Linked DNA regions of Homo sapiens: regions 2, 3, 4 and 5 are each linked to region 1. Evidence: promoter capture Hi-C in 16 types of primary human blood cells and fetal thymus (Javierre and others, 2016). All regions are on one chromosome and are shown on one strand. Each heading gives the region's core, a stretch centred on a gene start or on the middle of the fragment in contact. The rest is flanking DNA. Distances are from core to core; before and after follow the strand shown.

Region 1 (3,048 bases), core at 1-2,500:
AGCCAGAGGCAGAAACGAAGTTCAGCTCTTTCCCGTACTACACCCAACAGCCAAGCTGAATGTCATCACAATGAGAATGAATGACCTCACATTCAATGGCTTTTTAAAAATGGCCTTGTAGTTTCAAAGACAAATTCAACATCGTATACTTTGTGACACTCCCTCCAGGACGACTAACGTCTTCAATGACTGCACCTCTTATTTCCATAATCATTATCTTTTTGTACTAACTGCATTATTTTTACTTGAACAAAAAGGTTGTAATTCCCGCCTCACGGTTCCGAGTCATGATACAACTGATCTCCTGTTTCCCTAGCATGCAACCTTCCGGAAACCGCTTTGTTTCCCTATTTGTCGGACACTGACTTCAGGGAGGCCCGGTCGGCCTCTTTGGTGAGCACGGTGTTGAGCTGATCACTGGTGCGCCCTTAATAACGCCGGCGGGACTCACCCCAATCCGAAACCCACCATCCCGACGTGCTTTTGAGTGGCGTTCTGCCCGTTCTTAACGCGCGAGCTACTGCACGCTATTCTCACAGCCGGGATGGGCTTCTTTAACCACGTGAAGTACTTGTATGAACTATGAAAATAAACCCTGGCTTGGCTTTTCTGAGGAAGTTCAAGCACCTAATTAACCCCTGGTGGAGAAAAAGCCACGCACTCTCACGCGGTAAGGGCAGTCTTTTTAAAAAGTTTCCATTTTTGCCCAGATACAAGCTCCCCAGTCAGTGCCGAACGCAACAGGGAAGAACAGGCGACACATCCGGCTGGCGAGCTCGGCCTCGCGGGCCCGGCAGCGCAGCGGACACTGGGAAAGAGGCCATAGGCCCCGCCCACCTGAAGCCACCGCCCACTTCAGGCTTCCAGCGGGCCTCGGACTCCACCAACCTCGGCCCCGCCCGCCTCTGGCCCGCGTTCCTTAAACCCCTCCGAGGCCTCAGTCCCCGCCCACCCGGCCCGCCCACCTCAGTCCCTGCCCACCCGGGCCCGCCCATCTCAGGCCGGCAGTCAGCCTCAGGCTCTCCGCTTTGCGTCCCGCCGCCGTGGTGGCGTCTGGGAACCGAAGGCAGGTGCCCCTCGTTCTGCCGTCCCGCCCTCTCACCTCGGGTTGTGGCTTAGGTTCAGTGCGATCCAGGGAACGAAGCGGTACTTGTAACGGCGCCATCGCTGCCACAGGCCCCGCAGCAGACGGCCAGGCATGGCTGCCCCGCGGGGCCGTGACCAGGACGGCGCGGGGAAGGCGGATCGAGGCCTCGGGCCCGCCCCGGCCCGGGAGGAGAGGGGGCCGCGCTCGGCCGCCTTCCCCTGGCTCCGCTCTCAGTGTTCCTGGCACCGCCTGACTTCTGTTGCTCTGGGGCTTCGTCCTTCCCCTTTCCTGACCTCACCTCTCTGAATGAGAGGCGCGTAGAGCTGGAAGGAGGTCCCCTTGACCACTTTTTCTTTCTCCGGTCGCTCGGGTGCTTCCGTGGGCGCACACAAGCGCTAGCCCTGGTTGCGGGCGAAGGGTCACCGGGCCTCAGGGGCGAACCCGCCCCCGAGACCGCGTCCCAGGAGCGGACCGCCTAGTTTCTCTGTCACGGCTGTCTGGCCTGCCCCTTTGTCCCGGCCGCGCTCTGTGTTCCATCCTCCGTCCACTTGAGCTCTGCCTCTTCCTCGACGTTCTCTCCCCTTCTCTCCGTGGCCCCAGAGCAGCCCGACTTCGGGAACCCGAGTTTCAGTCCTCCCCAGACAGCAGCCCTTCTTCTGCGTGAACCCGTGTTCCCAAAGTTACCAGTTTGGGCGTTTTGCGAATATTTACACGTAAAAAAACAAAGTGTCATGATTCCCTGTTTTCACTCGTTTTTCTCTTCATTGACCCAACCATTCAAAGGCAAAACTACATGGACAAATGTTTCTGAAAAACAGCTTTGTTGAGGAATGGTTGGGATACAATAAACTGCACATATTTAAAGTGAACAATTTGATAGGTTTTCGACACCACAGCCAAGATAGTAATCCAGCCCCTCCCCCAGTCCCCAAGCAACCACTGAGGTGCTTTTGTCCTTTTAATATGGTCTTCGCTTCAATTTGGAAACGTTTTGTCTAGAAGTTCTGCATCTGTGTTCGTGAGAGATATTGTTTCGTAGTTTTCTTGTAGTGTCTTAATCTGGCTTTGGTATTTAGGCTAATGTTGACTTCATAGGATGAGGTGGGAAGTAGTCCCCCATAGGTGAAATTTAAAAGGAACTTTACGACCGCTCCTCCCCAACACCCAGATGCATGCACACGCACACACATATTTAGAACAGGTTTGGACAAAGTTCAGTTTTAAGGGGGGCAAACTACAGGAATCCCTTAACCATATTCAAATCACCAAGTGTTTATTGACAGATAAATACGTTGGTATCATTTCCTCTATTCTTTGCCTGAGAGTGAGGTTGGATCCTAAACTATTGAAATTGAACGGCTCAGATCTAATAAAAACTCAGCCAAGGCCGGGCGCAGTGGCTCACGCCTGTAATCCCAGCACTTTGGGAGGCCGAGGCGGGTGGATCCCCTGAGGTCAGGAGTTCGGGACCAATCTGGCCAACATGGCGAAACCCCGTCTTTACTAAAAAAGAACAAATACAAAAATTAGCCGAGCGTTGGTGGCACGTGCCTGTAGTCCCAGCTACTCAGGAGGCTGAGGCAGAAGAATCGCTTGAACCTGAGAGACGGAGGTTGCAGGGAGCCGAGATCCGCCACTGCACTCCAGCCTGGGTGACAGAGTGAGATCCCGTCTCAAAAAAAAAAAAAATTCAGCCAATCGCCAGTAGCTGCGGGACTAATTTGTTCTATTCTGAAAGAAATAAAGAGAAAGAGTATCTACCAATGTCTCTATTTCGTTCATATCATATAGAATGTTAGCAAACTCTAGAGGCTTTCTCTCAGACTCTGTGTTTGTTTGATAATTTGGCATAATCTAGATTTACCTGACTTGCTAAATGGAGTCAATTCAGTTCCAGGATGTATTAATAAGTGGCATACAAGAAAGTTTCTTTATAGTCTCCAAACTTAACAAAGAACCCA
Region 2 (3,048 bases), core at 225-2,724, 660 kb after region 1:
GCTTGGTTTCTATCTCCTCATTAGACTCAGACTGATATACTAATATAGGCTAGTTTGAGAGGCAAAATATAATTATTGTTTGAAATTTTAATGTTTTATTGCTACCAATATTGAACCCTTTTTCTTTAGTAATGAATTTCTTCATTTATTCAATAAATACTTATTGAATAGCTACCATGTACTAGACTAAAAAAAATGCATCTTTTCATTTCCTTATTGATGACTTATTTTTCCTTCTCTATAAACTATTCACTTGTACCTATTTTTCTGTTATGTTGATGTTTTTCTTATTGAAACATATTATATTTAAATATGAAAGATATTAATTCTTTGGCATATTTGTGGCAAATAGTTTCCCAAGTGTATAGCTTACTATTTATTTTATCTCACTGTTGGTGTATTTTTTTAATTAGCCATATATATTGAGAATTGGATTTTGAAAAACGAGAAGTATACTATATAGTCAGCTATTCCTGTCAGAGAAAAAGAGATTCTACATGTTTATCTTTGTTCCAGCCAAAAACAATTTTGGCAAAGGTTTGGGGAATTGAGAGTGCATCAGATCTGAGCTGGGCTGCTCATTTATGAAGCATTTTGGAATAACAAATAATGACACTCAGCATCGGGCCAGGCACTTAATGAGTGTTCAATACCTACTTCTTAATCAATGGCTGATGGATGAGTTGTTCTAATACACCATTCTAACTCAGCTGTTGGGTTTTTTACTAAGAGAAAAATAAGAATTCTGATTTGGATTCCTATTTGTGCATGGTAGCCATGAAATTTCATACACAGGAGCCCATTGCATGCAGACAGAACTACACGAACATTTCTTCAAGCATTTAAACAGGCTGATATCCTGGTGTAGACTTTATCACTGACAAAAAGGAATTCAGAGATCACCATAACAACCTTTATTCCCATCAAATATTATTAATAGCCTGATGTTGAAAATCACTTCTGACATATCTTAGTTTATCGAGCAAATAGCCAAAACCTTTCCTAGTATGTTATTTTTATCTTGAATTATAACAGAGAAAATATTATAACAAAAGAACAATTATGTGTGTAGGTATGCCCATAGAATTTTAGTTTGTTTGTTTAACTGGATGAAGGAAAGCATAAACCTGTTTGATTAGAGATGTAGAGATTAATTCAGATTTAGCTCTTCAAACTTGTCTTTTGTCTCCCTAAGCCTAGTCATGCCAAAAATTTCCTGCTGCAAATTGAGATCTCATTTTTTTCTCCATTTTTCAATTTGGATTTTAATAGAATTTCTTTCCCTGAGGGAGAAAGAGGGAAATGTCAGAATATAAACTCCTGGAAGCTTAAATCCTACACATAGCTGAAATATTTCATCTAAACTTGCCTAAAGGCTGCCATATTGCTACACGTATAACTCATACATCAGATCTCTCACAGGCAAATAGGACATATTAGGCCAAAGAAAGATTCAGTCACCATTTCACCAAGAAACATACAGGCTGGGTCTATAACATACCAAAAAATGGTCACTTTTAGGGGCCCAAAGTGACTAAAACCAATTGTTTAGCATAATGTAGACCAAATAATACATACCATGGTTTTGCAAAAATTTTAATTTTCTGCTTCATAAGCTTAATGTAAATCTGCTTGCTCTATTTCCAGCGGGAAGGAAATAGATTTTTTTTTAATTCTGTCTTACAAAAAGATTGTGAAATCAAATAGAAAATGTGCTGGGTGTCACTCAACATTTCAAAACTGTTATCTGAAAGAACCACATGTGAAAACATCCTTTGGGAGAGCGTGTAAAGGAAACCTCCCATCTCTTGATGTCATTAAATTGTTGACACTGCATTCATGCAATGGGAGTGTCGCCTTAACCAGCCAAATGATAATTCAAACCTCCTTAATTTTCTTCTTACAAATAAAAGAAAATTACTTTCTCTGATGATGATTGGGTTAATTAGCAGCTCTCTAGGTCTCTGTGTAAACTGAAGATGATTAAGATAACTTCTTGCTCTAATATAGTTTATGACTCTCTGAATATTGGGACTTTTTCTCAAGACACATAACAAGAGGAATTCAGAGGTTAAAATTATCTTGAAATAAAAAAGAAACTGGAGGCAGAACTAGATAGAGAAAAGCTAGATAGATGATACCAGAGAAATACCAAGCTGGCTTAAAGCAGGAGAGGATTTTGCTTGAGCCCCACTTCTCTGTCTAAAGGGTCAGATCTGGGTCCAGCAGCCAACATCATCAACCCTGCATCTCCCTGTCTCAATCTCCCTTCAGAGAGAAACCCCTTTCCAAGCCCCTGGGCTTACTAACTCCTGCCTGTGGACACCTAGGTTATAGGCCCAGATGCCTAACCTCCATTTAGGCTCTCTCAGTGTTTGACCCAACCTGGATAGCAGATGCATTAGCATAAAACTAAGTAGGCAAGAGTCCTGGGTGGTTTGCTGGGCAAATAATTATTTCAGTTAAACGAGTGTTGATTGAGCATCTAACATGTGCAAAGAAGAATGAGAACTTGAGCCCACTTCTTGTGACACCAAGTTCACGATTCTTCCCACCATTCTATACCACCTGGGCTAAAGTGCCAAGGCCCCATTCCCACCGCCAAAATAACAGTGAATGCTTAGATATTGGGAACCCTGAGATTTGCAGGAAATATTATTTAAGTCTGTATGTTTTTCACAGCAGGTGCTGTCAATCAATTCCTCCAACCATTAAAAACTTCAGTGTGGCCCTAGGTGACCTGGATCCTAACTTCCATCAGAACAGTTGTCCATCAGAGCATCTGCACAGTAGTACTTGCCCTCAGCAGCTAGGGAGCTAAAGCCAGATTACATTGGATCAAGCAGAGATTGGGTGGTCTGGAAAGGAAATAGCAAATGTAGCCTTTTTATTCCCAAAATCATGTCAAGAAACAAAGAATAAATCTGTTTGAAGAAACATCACATCATCACAGTTTTGTTTCATTTTTATTTTTTTAAGGCCTGAAGAAGGATATATGTGTAGGCTAAGGAAAAGTTTCTTGAGGAGGGAAAAAGATGAAGTTGCAAA
Region 3 (3,048 bases), core at 186-2,685, 630 kb after region 1:
TGATGAAGGTGGAGAAGGCCCCCCAGGAGACCTATGTCAATACTGGGGGGTTGGACAACCAAATTCAGGAAATTAAGGAATCTATGGAGCTTCCTCTCCCCCATCCTGAATATTATGAAGAGATGGGTACAAAGCCTCCTAAAGGGGTCATTCTCTGTGGTCCACCTGGCACAGGTAAAAACCTTGTTAGCCAAAGCAGTAGCAAACCAAACCTCAGCCACTTTCTTGAGAGTGGTTGGCTCTGAACTTATTCAGAAGTACCTAGGTGATGGGCCCAAACTCGTACGGCAAGTATTTCAAGTTGCTGAAGAACATGCACCATCCATCATGTTTACTGATGAAATTGAAGCCATTGGGACAAAAAGATATGACTCCAATTCTGGTGGTGAGAGAGAAATTCAGCAAACAATGTTGGAATTGGAACTGTTGAACCAATTGGGTGGATTTGATTCTAGGGAAGATGTGAAAGTTATCATGGCCACAAAACAAGTAGAAACTTTGGATCCAGTACTTATCAGACCAGGCCGCATTGACAAGAAGATCGAGTTCCACCTGCCTGATGAAAAGACTAAGAAGCACATCTTTCAGATTCACACAAGCAGGATGACACTGGCCAATGATGTAACCCTGGACGACTTGATCATGGCTAAAGATGACTTCTCTGGTGCTGACATCAAGGCAATCTGTACAGAAGCTGGTCTGATGGCCTTAAGAGAACATAGAATGAAAGCAACAAATGAAGACTTCAAAAAATCTATAGAAAGTGTTCTTTATAAGAAACACGAAGGCATCCCTGAGGGGCTTTATCTCTAGTGAACCACCGCTGCCATCAGGAAGATGGTTGGGAGATTTCCCAACCCCTGAAAGGGATGAGGTTGGGGGAGTTGCCCAGAGGAATCCCTGTTCCCATTGATTTTTATTAGCAAAGCATCCTGTGTGTATTTTGGAGTACGATGTGTGAGTGCCCAATGGGTGGCCTTCATCTGTCGGTCACTGTGCAGCACTCTGCTTCCAAATAAAGCATGCTCTTTCACAAAAAAAAAAAAAAAAAAAAAAAAAAAAAAAAAAAAGATGGTTGATGCTGAACAAGAGGTGGTCTCAGGTGGGTAACATGAAAGTGCTGGTTAATGTCCCGAGTTAATGGGTTCAGAGATTTCAAAGGAAGATGAAAATTTGACTTGAGAAGGATTTTTTACCTTTCCAAGGTTTCATCTGACAGAGCAAGCCACTTGGACACAAAATGAGTTTATAAGAGCAGCAAACAGAACCAAACCTGAAAGCATCGCCAGTCTCTGTGTTGGGTCCATTTGAGCACCTTGATGCCAACTCTTTAAGCCTGGGTGGGAGGCAAGACTACCTAGAGTTTCTTTACTTTTTAAGTATGTGCAATCTGATGACCTCTTCTCTCTCATCAGGTTCAGCTTTGTCTGACCAGTACCTAAGGCAAATGTTGGCCTCACAAACTTTTCCAAACACCAAGCATTTAATAAGAGTATCAACTCTGGCTCATGCAAAAGTGAATGACTAGTAGAAATAATGGGGACAGAAACAGAGGTGTTCTTGTCATCCGATCATCCCTTTTCCTGGAAAATTTGAATATTTTCCATAAAATTATTATACAGTTATTCACTTTAAAGCTGTTCTCAAATGTCCATAGAGGCTCAGTCATGAACGGATATTCATTGAGGCTTCACACTGTCTGGGCATGTCAGGAACCATCCATGTAATAAATAGACATGAGCACACATCTATGAAAACTTAGCTGGTTACTCAAGACAGTGTGTCCAAGCATAACCTGGAAATTCGTCCCATGAGGACTCAGAAGCAGGAAAGAAAATGTCACTGTTAACTGATGTGCACAGAAAAGGCTTCATTGATGGAAGAAGAATAGAACTCAGGCAGAGAAGAGGAAAGAAGGGCCTCTGGGTGGGAAGGCACCCAGAGCAAAGGCACCCAGGTGGGAATGCGTATGCATACTAGGATGCAGAATTCTCTCCATTATACCTAAGGGTCAAGGAGGTGGGAGCAATGTAAGAACCGAAAAATGTTTTCAGATGTAGAATTAGCATATATAAAGGAATAAGATTTTTTTCTGATTTATAAAAATATTCCTGAAGTTATTCTAAAATTAAGCAACATTTAGTTTAAGATCTAACGAATCACTCTTTTAGAGAAGAAAATAATTATATGAGAAAAGAATCCTCTCCCCTCATTGTATGAGCTGTTAATTCTCCATTGTTCTCTGCGTGTTGGTTATTTATCTATTGTCTCTTGGATCCAAGCCCACCTTTCTATACTCTGCTCTTGGATATGGTAAGCCATCTGGTTCATTTCCCCTTAGATGCTGCCGGCAGAAGCCTTAGAGTGTGACTGGAGGTTGGGAGGAAGGAAAGGGACCCTCCTTCCTGGTCTTTGCACTTTCTGGGAGTGTCTCTCCAGCAGCAGTATTGCTCCAGCAGCATAGTTGGCTCCAGCTTTCAGTAGCCCCAGAACCAGCCTCCCATTCCCCCTGGCAGGCACTAGCAACAGCCAGGCGATGCCCATCTCCAGGGGGTTGAGCTCAGTCAATGGGTCCGCCTCTGAGCCACTTGGTTCTGCTAACTCTACCTCTTGACTGTTGTTTCCCCAGGCCTAGAGTATGTAACTGATTTGTCAAATTAATTTTATTTTTTTAAAGATAAGTTCATGTAACATAAAATTCACTGTTTGAAAGTGTACAATTCAGTGATTATTAGTAAATTCATAATGTTGTGCAACCATTACCATGATCTAATTCTACTATGTCTTCATCACTCCAAAAAGAAACCCTGTATCTCCCAGTTACCACCAATTACCTTTTTTTACTTTGCAGTCAACAAGTGTTTCCTGGAGAGATACCCCTAGACTGTGTAAACATCCCATTCTTTACTCAACTTTCACCTTCCAGCTTTCAAATCTATTGATGCATTTTGCCTAAAATAATTACTATGGTTCTCAAATTGCTCTAAGTCCTTAATTTTTTCAGCATTCATTAGCTGGCATTCTACTTTAGGAAAGAGCATTCTCTTT
Region 4 (3,048 bases), core at 162-2,661, 620 kb after region 1:
ACATTTGTGCCTAGATTTTTTTTAAAAAGCTATAAAGGACATTTTTGAAAAGCTATGAAAGACAACTGGGAACATTTGAATATAAAATGAATAATAATATCCTTAGTTAAACATAATCCTTAAATTTTCTCAGTGCCATATTTACAATTATTTATAATATGACTTTGTATTTGAATGCCCTTGTTCATAGGGGAAATGCACACGAATGGTTAAGCATAAAATACCACAATGTCTGCAACAAACTTGAAAGCTCTCAAATGGTTCAGCAAAATAATGTTGATGATGACAATAATAAGCTCACCCCCAACACACACGTAGAGAGAGGAACTATAAGAAAATGTGTAAAATGTGAAGGCAAGTGGGAGTTCATTGCATTTGCCTAACAGCTTTTCCAAAAATGTTTGACATGTTTCCAGATAAAATAGGGTAAGAGAGAAAAGGGAATTATTATAGACTAAAAATACTTAACAAACATATCAAACAAATGTAATATGTGGGCCATATGTGAATCCTAATTACAATAAACCAACTATTAAAAACCAATATTTTTGAGGCAATCTGAGAAAACTGAACATGCATTAGGTATTAGATAAATATTAGGAATTAACAAGTTGTTAATTCTGTTGAGTGTGATAATGGTACATTGTGGTTATGGAAAGAAGGCTTTATCTGTTAAAGATGCATACCGAAGTATTGGCAAGTAAAACAATATGTCATCTGGGATTTGCACATGATTCAGAAAAGAAATGTTTTAAAATGAGAGAAATGAAACAGGAATGACAGAATGTTCACTGTTGAAGCTGGGTAACAGATATATTGGAGTTATTTACACTATTAGCATCTCAACTTTGTGTCTGAAAATTCTTCATAATAAAAAATTGTTTTAAAAAACTAAAACTCATGCACTCTGCTAGAGAATAAAAGAATTCTTTCTGAAGGTTAGGGATAAATCATTTATATAGATTTGTAAATTGCAGCCTTTATATCTTACCCTTAGGAGCTTAAGCTTTGGCATGCATGCATGTACACATACGCATGCACAAACATACACTTTTCAAAAAAGTACTCTGAGCCACTGTTGGCCAAGTCCCAGTCCCAGAGGTGATGCTGTGATGAGTAGTTACTTCCCATTTGCCAGCTTATTTAGCAGGTCAATAACCTTCCAACTTCAATATCTTAAAATTCATTTTATGTTAGAATTGCTCTCTCCCTCACCCCATTTCTTCCATCTCACCCAGCATCAATAACAAAGTATGTAAATATCACTGCCCAAAGGGCCACATCAAAGATATTTTTTGCTCCTCATTAGCTAAGGAAGAATTGCAGCATGGGGAGTGAGTTATGGACAAGCTCTCAGTGAGTCTGTGGTTGGGCTAGGACTAGGACCTTGGACCTTAGACCTCTGCTCTAACCATTAGTCAACATGTCCTCTCTTGAACATCCAGAATAAAGGCAGCTCTAGTCTCTATAGTAACCAATCTTCTTAAAATAGGAATTATGTGGAGAACAAAACATTTAAAACCAATTGGATCCATTCATGCCTAAACAATGTCAATTTAAGGGCTGTTACCCAAGTTGTTGGCTTTTTGAATGGTCTCCCACCATGTGCTCAACTAAAGGAAGTGGGGTGGCTGTATCAAATGTTCCATTCCATACAGAATCTTGCATGCTTTTATCCCCTTTCCCTTCTTCAAACATTTCTTTATGTCCCCGAGTCATAGCCCTTAAAATAAACTTTTGGTAAAGGCAGTTTTATGGCCACAAGACTCAGACAAAAGTGGACATCTGAGAAACCCTTACAGGCAAAGAAAGCTTCCCAAGATGAAATGGGACTGAGTCCAAATCCCACACAGAAACCTTGCAACTTCATGCATTATTTTCAGTTTATAAGGTAGACCTTTGAACAACTCTCCTACCCAGTTAGCTTCCCCGTGGGTTTCTGGGGAGGAAGTAGAATATCTCTTGAAACCAAAGCTAACAAGGCTCACAACTGGAAACTGAAATTATCCAGTCTCTGGTGGTGAGTACCTGCCTCGTAGGGCTTTGTAAGGCTCTGATGGGGATGCGCTTAAAATATATTGACACAAGTTCACAATAACTAATATTATTTCATTGTCACTATTTTTATTACTCTATATGTTAGCCATAACTCTTGGGTTCCACAAAAGAAAATATTCATCCACTCTGCCTCTATCATTTTTATCCCTTATTTTTGGAAATGCTTTTGATTTTCAAAATATTGCTAGGGCTGGGCGCTGTGGCTCATGCCCATAATCCTAATGCTTTGGGAGGATGATAAGAATCTCTTGAGGCCAGGAGTTTGAGACCAACTGGGAAACACAGCAAGACCCTGTTTCTACAAAAAAGAAGAAAAAATAGCTGTGCATGGTGGTGTATCCCTGCAGTCCCAGCTACTTGGGAGACTGAGGCAGGAGATCACTTGAGACCAGGAGTTTGAGGCTGCAGTGAGTTATGACTGCACCACTGTACTCCAGTCTGGGTGACAGAGTGAAACCCCATCTCTTAAAAAAAGAAAATGCTGGATATAGGGTGCACTATCACTTGGATCTTTCATGTAGCCTGACATTTTTTTTTTAATTTTTCCAAATGTAAAAAAGACAAGTAGTGACATTTATTTATCTTTTGATCTATCTCTTTTTTTCCATCTTTTTTTCTATTTGAGTAACATGTATCCCATAGGAGCTTGTAGTCTGGTTTCTCACTTGGACACAAGTGCCTTTCAGGAGTTCACAGTGAAGTGTAACAGACACATACACAGTTGAATTACAACACAGCTAGGCTTGCCAGATTTAGCAAATAAAAATTAGAATGCTCAGCTCAATCTGAAGTTTAGATACATAACAAATAATTGTTTCATATATGTTCTAAATATGGCATGAGACCTATGTGTAATACAAATTATTCATTATTTATCTGAAATTCAAAATTAATTGGGCATCCTCCATTGTACCTGACAACCTTAATTTACATGACATAGTAGCTACTATCCATGAATATAAATAGAAAGGGCTGTGGGAACACAAAGAC
Region 5 (3,048 bases), core at 344-2,843, 580 kb after region 1:
GAGAATGCATTCCTTGTCTCTTTCACTTCTGGTGTCTATTGGCTTTCCTTGGCTTATGGCTGCATCTCTGCTCTGTGCTCACATTGCCTTCTCTTCTGTATGTGTGGTATTGAACTTCCCTCTGCCTCTCTTTCTCACATGTGATTGTATTTAGAGCCCACCCAGATAATTCAGACTAAGCTCCTCCTCTTAAGATATTTAACTTAATAACATCTTTCACCATACAAGGTGATATTCACAGATTTTAGGCATTAGACATGAACATATCTTTGAGGCCATCATTCAGTTCACTACAGGGACATACACAAGGATATTTATTTTTTAAATTCTATTAACAGCAAAAAACTAGAAACAGCACAAATGCCCCACCCACAAGATAATGCATAATGTATAATGTAATAAGAATATTATATAGCAGTATAGAGTCAATTTCATCTTCATCTATATCAGCACACATAGTTATCAAACACTTGTCATAAAGCAAGTTGCAGAATGACATATACAATATTATATCATTTATTTAATTTTTAAACAGGAATACATATATTTATTAGAAGTACGCAACATGAGCTAAATAGATATATACAAATATATGACAGTGTTGGAAACTGGGGAGCACCCATGGCATAGAAGATGGGAAGTAGAGCAAAGATGGTTCCATTAAAAGAGAAGCTTCTTTTATAATAATACACAAAAGACAAATTCCAAAATGTGAACAGTCCTTAATCTTGGGTTATAGGCACTGAAGTGTTTGTAATTCTATGCACATTTTAAATGATTTTTTAAATATTTTATAATTTTGTTTTTTATATTTAAAGATAGAAAATATTTTATGGTTATTCAGAAAACAGTATGAAGGATAAATTAGAATAGGCAGGAAATAGAGGGAAGGAAACCATTTAGAGACTACTACAAATAAGAAATAGAAAAGATGTATGAAGATTGGACCTAAGAAAGTGACCATGAAAACAGTGAGAAAAGGGTGATTATGAACAAAATTTACAAGGTAGACTCTTTAGGGCCTGTCTACTGAGTCAATGGGCACCAGGAGCGAGAGCGAGAAGGAAGATTCAAGGTGATGCCAAATTACTGACCTAAGAAACAGGTTGAATGGTGGCAGTGCAGTCACAGACAACTACTAATCTGCTTTCTGTCACAGTGAAATAGTTTCCATTTTCTAGCATTGTATATAAATGAAAGGCAGTAGGCACTATTTTTTTTTTTTGGTCTGGCTTCTTTCTCTCAGCACATTTATTTTAATATCCATCCCTGTTGTGTGTATAGCAACAGCTCATTCCTTTTTATTGCTGATTAGAATGGCAAGTTTCATTGACTGTCAGTCACCCTGGAGTGTCATTCCTGGCTGAGCCTCTCCCTGGCATGTGGACACTCAAGATTCATTCCCCCATCATCTGCCCACCTCCCTCCCACATCTGAATCTGCAGCTGTTTGCCTTCCCCAAATCCTCTTGTCACTGTTTGACGAGCAGTTACTGTTAGAGTGATTTCCTGGTGGGTTGCAAAATGTTACAATGTAACCAAGTATTAAATGAGCAAAATACTCTCCAAGGAATTGGAGGAGGTTGTCTTCAAAGTTGAATCTCAAAAATTCTGATTTTTCTACATTTCTGCTTAGTTCATCCTTCTAAAAAGACACCGTCATTTCTAATATGGACTCACTAAAGACATAAAGATGGCCAGTACAAGTAAGCTAAGACTACTGAATGAACACTCCAATTACCTTGTTTGAGGTTGGTCCCAAATTTATCTTTTGGTTGGCCTGCACGGATAATAAATAAATAAGCAAACAACAATAGAATAAATACCAGTGGCCTAAGTTCCACATCATTAGCATTTTGTGTTCCCAGAGCTACCATGTGGATCAGATTCAACTGGTATCCTGAGGGCTCCAGTGCTGCCTTAGAAAAATGATTAGTCTGGTGTACCAACCTCTGGGAAGTCTGCTATAGCCAGATTCCAGGAAATAGGCACTTTGACAGAGTCTTCAGCATGAATGCCCAAGGGAAGGAGAAGCTCTGAAAGAAAATTGTTTTAAATAGCTGCCTAATGATTGAGCGTCATGAAATGCTTTCACTTGGCAGGGCAAAATTGCACTACCTAGAAATGTCTGGGTGGCATTTAGAGTTGACAGACAGTAATGAGCGCTGGTTAAAAAAAAAAAAAAAGAGGTATTTTAGTGCTCTAGCAATTGCTAGACCTTCAGAAACACATCTCCCTTCTATATTTACACCTGCATTTTAAAAAGAAAAAAGAACAAAGAGAAGGAAAGAGAAAAAGGAAGGAAAGAAAAAAGGGAGAAAAGTATATCTATCATTTTATCCATTTCTAAAGACTCTTACATCAATTTAAAAGCTAACCATAATTGATCTTTTACTATGAACAATGTTTTGTGCTAAGTGCTTTACAAATATTAGCTAATTTCATCTTCACAACAACTGTTTAAGGCATACAACATTATTTCTCCCTTCTTACACATAAAGAAACTGAAGCTTGCCTGAGGTCATCATCTAATTGACAAGTCACGGTTCAAACCTAGGTGAGTCTAGCTTTAGAATTTGGGTTTCAATCACCGTATGGCATTGCTTCTCTTTCCTAACCTGGACTTAGTGATTGTGCAAACAGTGATGTCAACCATCTCAGCTTGCCTGGGTAGGGATGAAGAGAATTTCCTTCGCTCTTGCTTCTGAAGTTTAAATAATTTGAGTCTATAAAACAAACTAACAATAGGCAGATTCACAGGGAAAAAAAAGTGTACAAATTTTATTAATGTGCATATGGACACAGAAGCCACACACAAAGTATGAGACTCAATGGAAAGCCAGATGGCTGAAGGTTATATACCATACAGCAAGGAATAGAGGCTTGGGGCATGGCAAGACAAGTTATTGGAGGAAGAGGGGAGAAAAGGCATGGTGAGCAAAGGCTATCTTGTTATGCAGATAGAGCCCCATGGATAGCAGCCCTCGGAAAGAACAGACAGTATCCTGCTCTTATGTGGTAAAACTTTATCTGTCAGACCTTTTGAAGT

What was found. Contacts are between HindIII fragments. The CHiCAGO score rates a contact against its expected background, and 5 or more counts as called.
Region 2: a fragment that was not itself captured here is called in contact with the fragment with the promoter of SETD9 in region 1 in 5 of 17 cell types (total B cells, naive B cells, erythroblasts and 2 more); the score reaches 9.7 in total B cells.
Region 3: a contact is called between a fragment that was not itself captured here and the fragment with the promoter of SETD9 in region 1, in 14 of 17 cell types (neutrophils, naive CD8 T cells, non-activated CD4 T cells and 11 more). The highest score is 15.1, in neutrophils.
Region 4: a fragment that was not itself captured here is called in contact with the fragment with the promoter of SETD9 in region 1 in 5 of 17 cell types (neutrophils, non-activated CD4 T cells, naive B cells and 2 more); the score reaches 10.1 in neutrophils.
Region 5: a fragment that was not itself captured here is called in contact with the fragment with the promoter of SETD9 in region 1 in 1 of 17 cell types (fetal thymus); the score reaches 5.0 in fetal thymus.

The regions. Positions count from the first base shown.
Region 1 is chr5:56,907,798-56,910,845 of GRCh38, reverse strand. It overlaps SETD9 (SET domain containing 9), which reads right to left and starts at 1,250. Exons shown (of 6, transcript NM_153706.4): 1 at 1,103-1,250. The coding sequence starts at 1,200. RefSeq lists enhancers at 1-589, 685-734, 1,525-1,614 and silencers at 775-984, 1,165-1,374. The HindIII fragment of the contact is 6,770 bases long and covers 1-3,048 here.
Region 2 is chr5:56,250,809-56,253,856 of GRCh38, reverse strand. No RefSeq gene overlaps it. Among named protein-coding and RNA genes, the nearest start is that of ANKRD55, 19 kb to the right of the region's middle. The HindIII fragment of the contact is 289 bases long and covers 1,330-1,618 here.
Region 3 is chr5:56,273,064-56,276,111 of GRCh38, reverse strand. It overlaps the pseudogene PSMC1P4. Among named protein-coding and RNA genes, the nearest start is that of ANKRD55, 41 kb to the right of the region's middle. The HindIII fragment of the contact is 5,403 bases long and covers 1-3,048 here.
Region 4 is chr5:56,289,511-56,292,558 of GRCh38, reverse strand. No RefSeq gene overlaps it. Among named protein-coding and RNA genes, the nearest start is that of ANKRD55, 58 kb to the right of the region's middle. The HindIII fragment of the contact is 806 bases long and covers 1,009-1,814 here.
Region 5 is chr5:56,329,358-56,332,405 of GRCh38, reverse strand. All of the region lies in intron 2 of LOC105378977 (a long non-coding RNA gene), which reads right to left. Among named protein-coding and RNA genes, the nearest start is that of ANKRD55, 98 kb to the right of the region's middle. The HindIII fragment of the contact is 1,837 bases long and covers 675-2,511 here.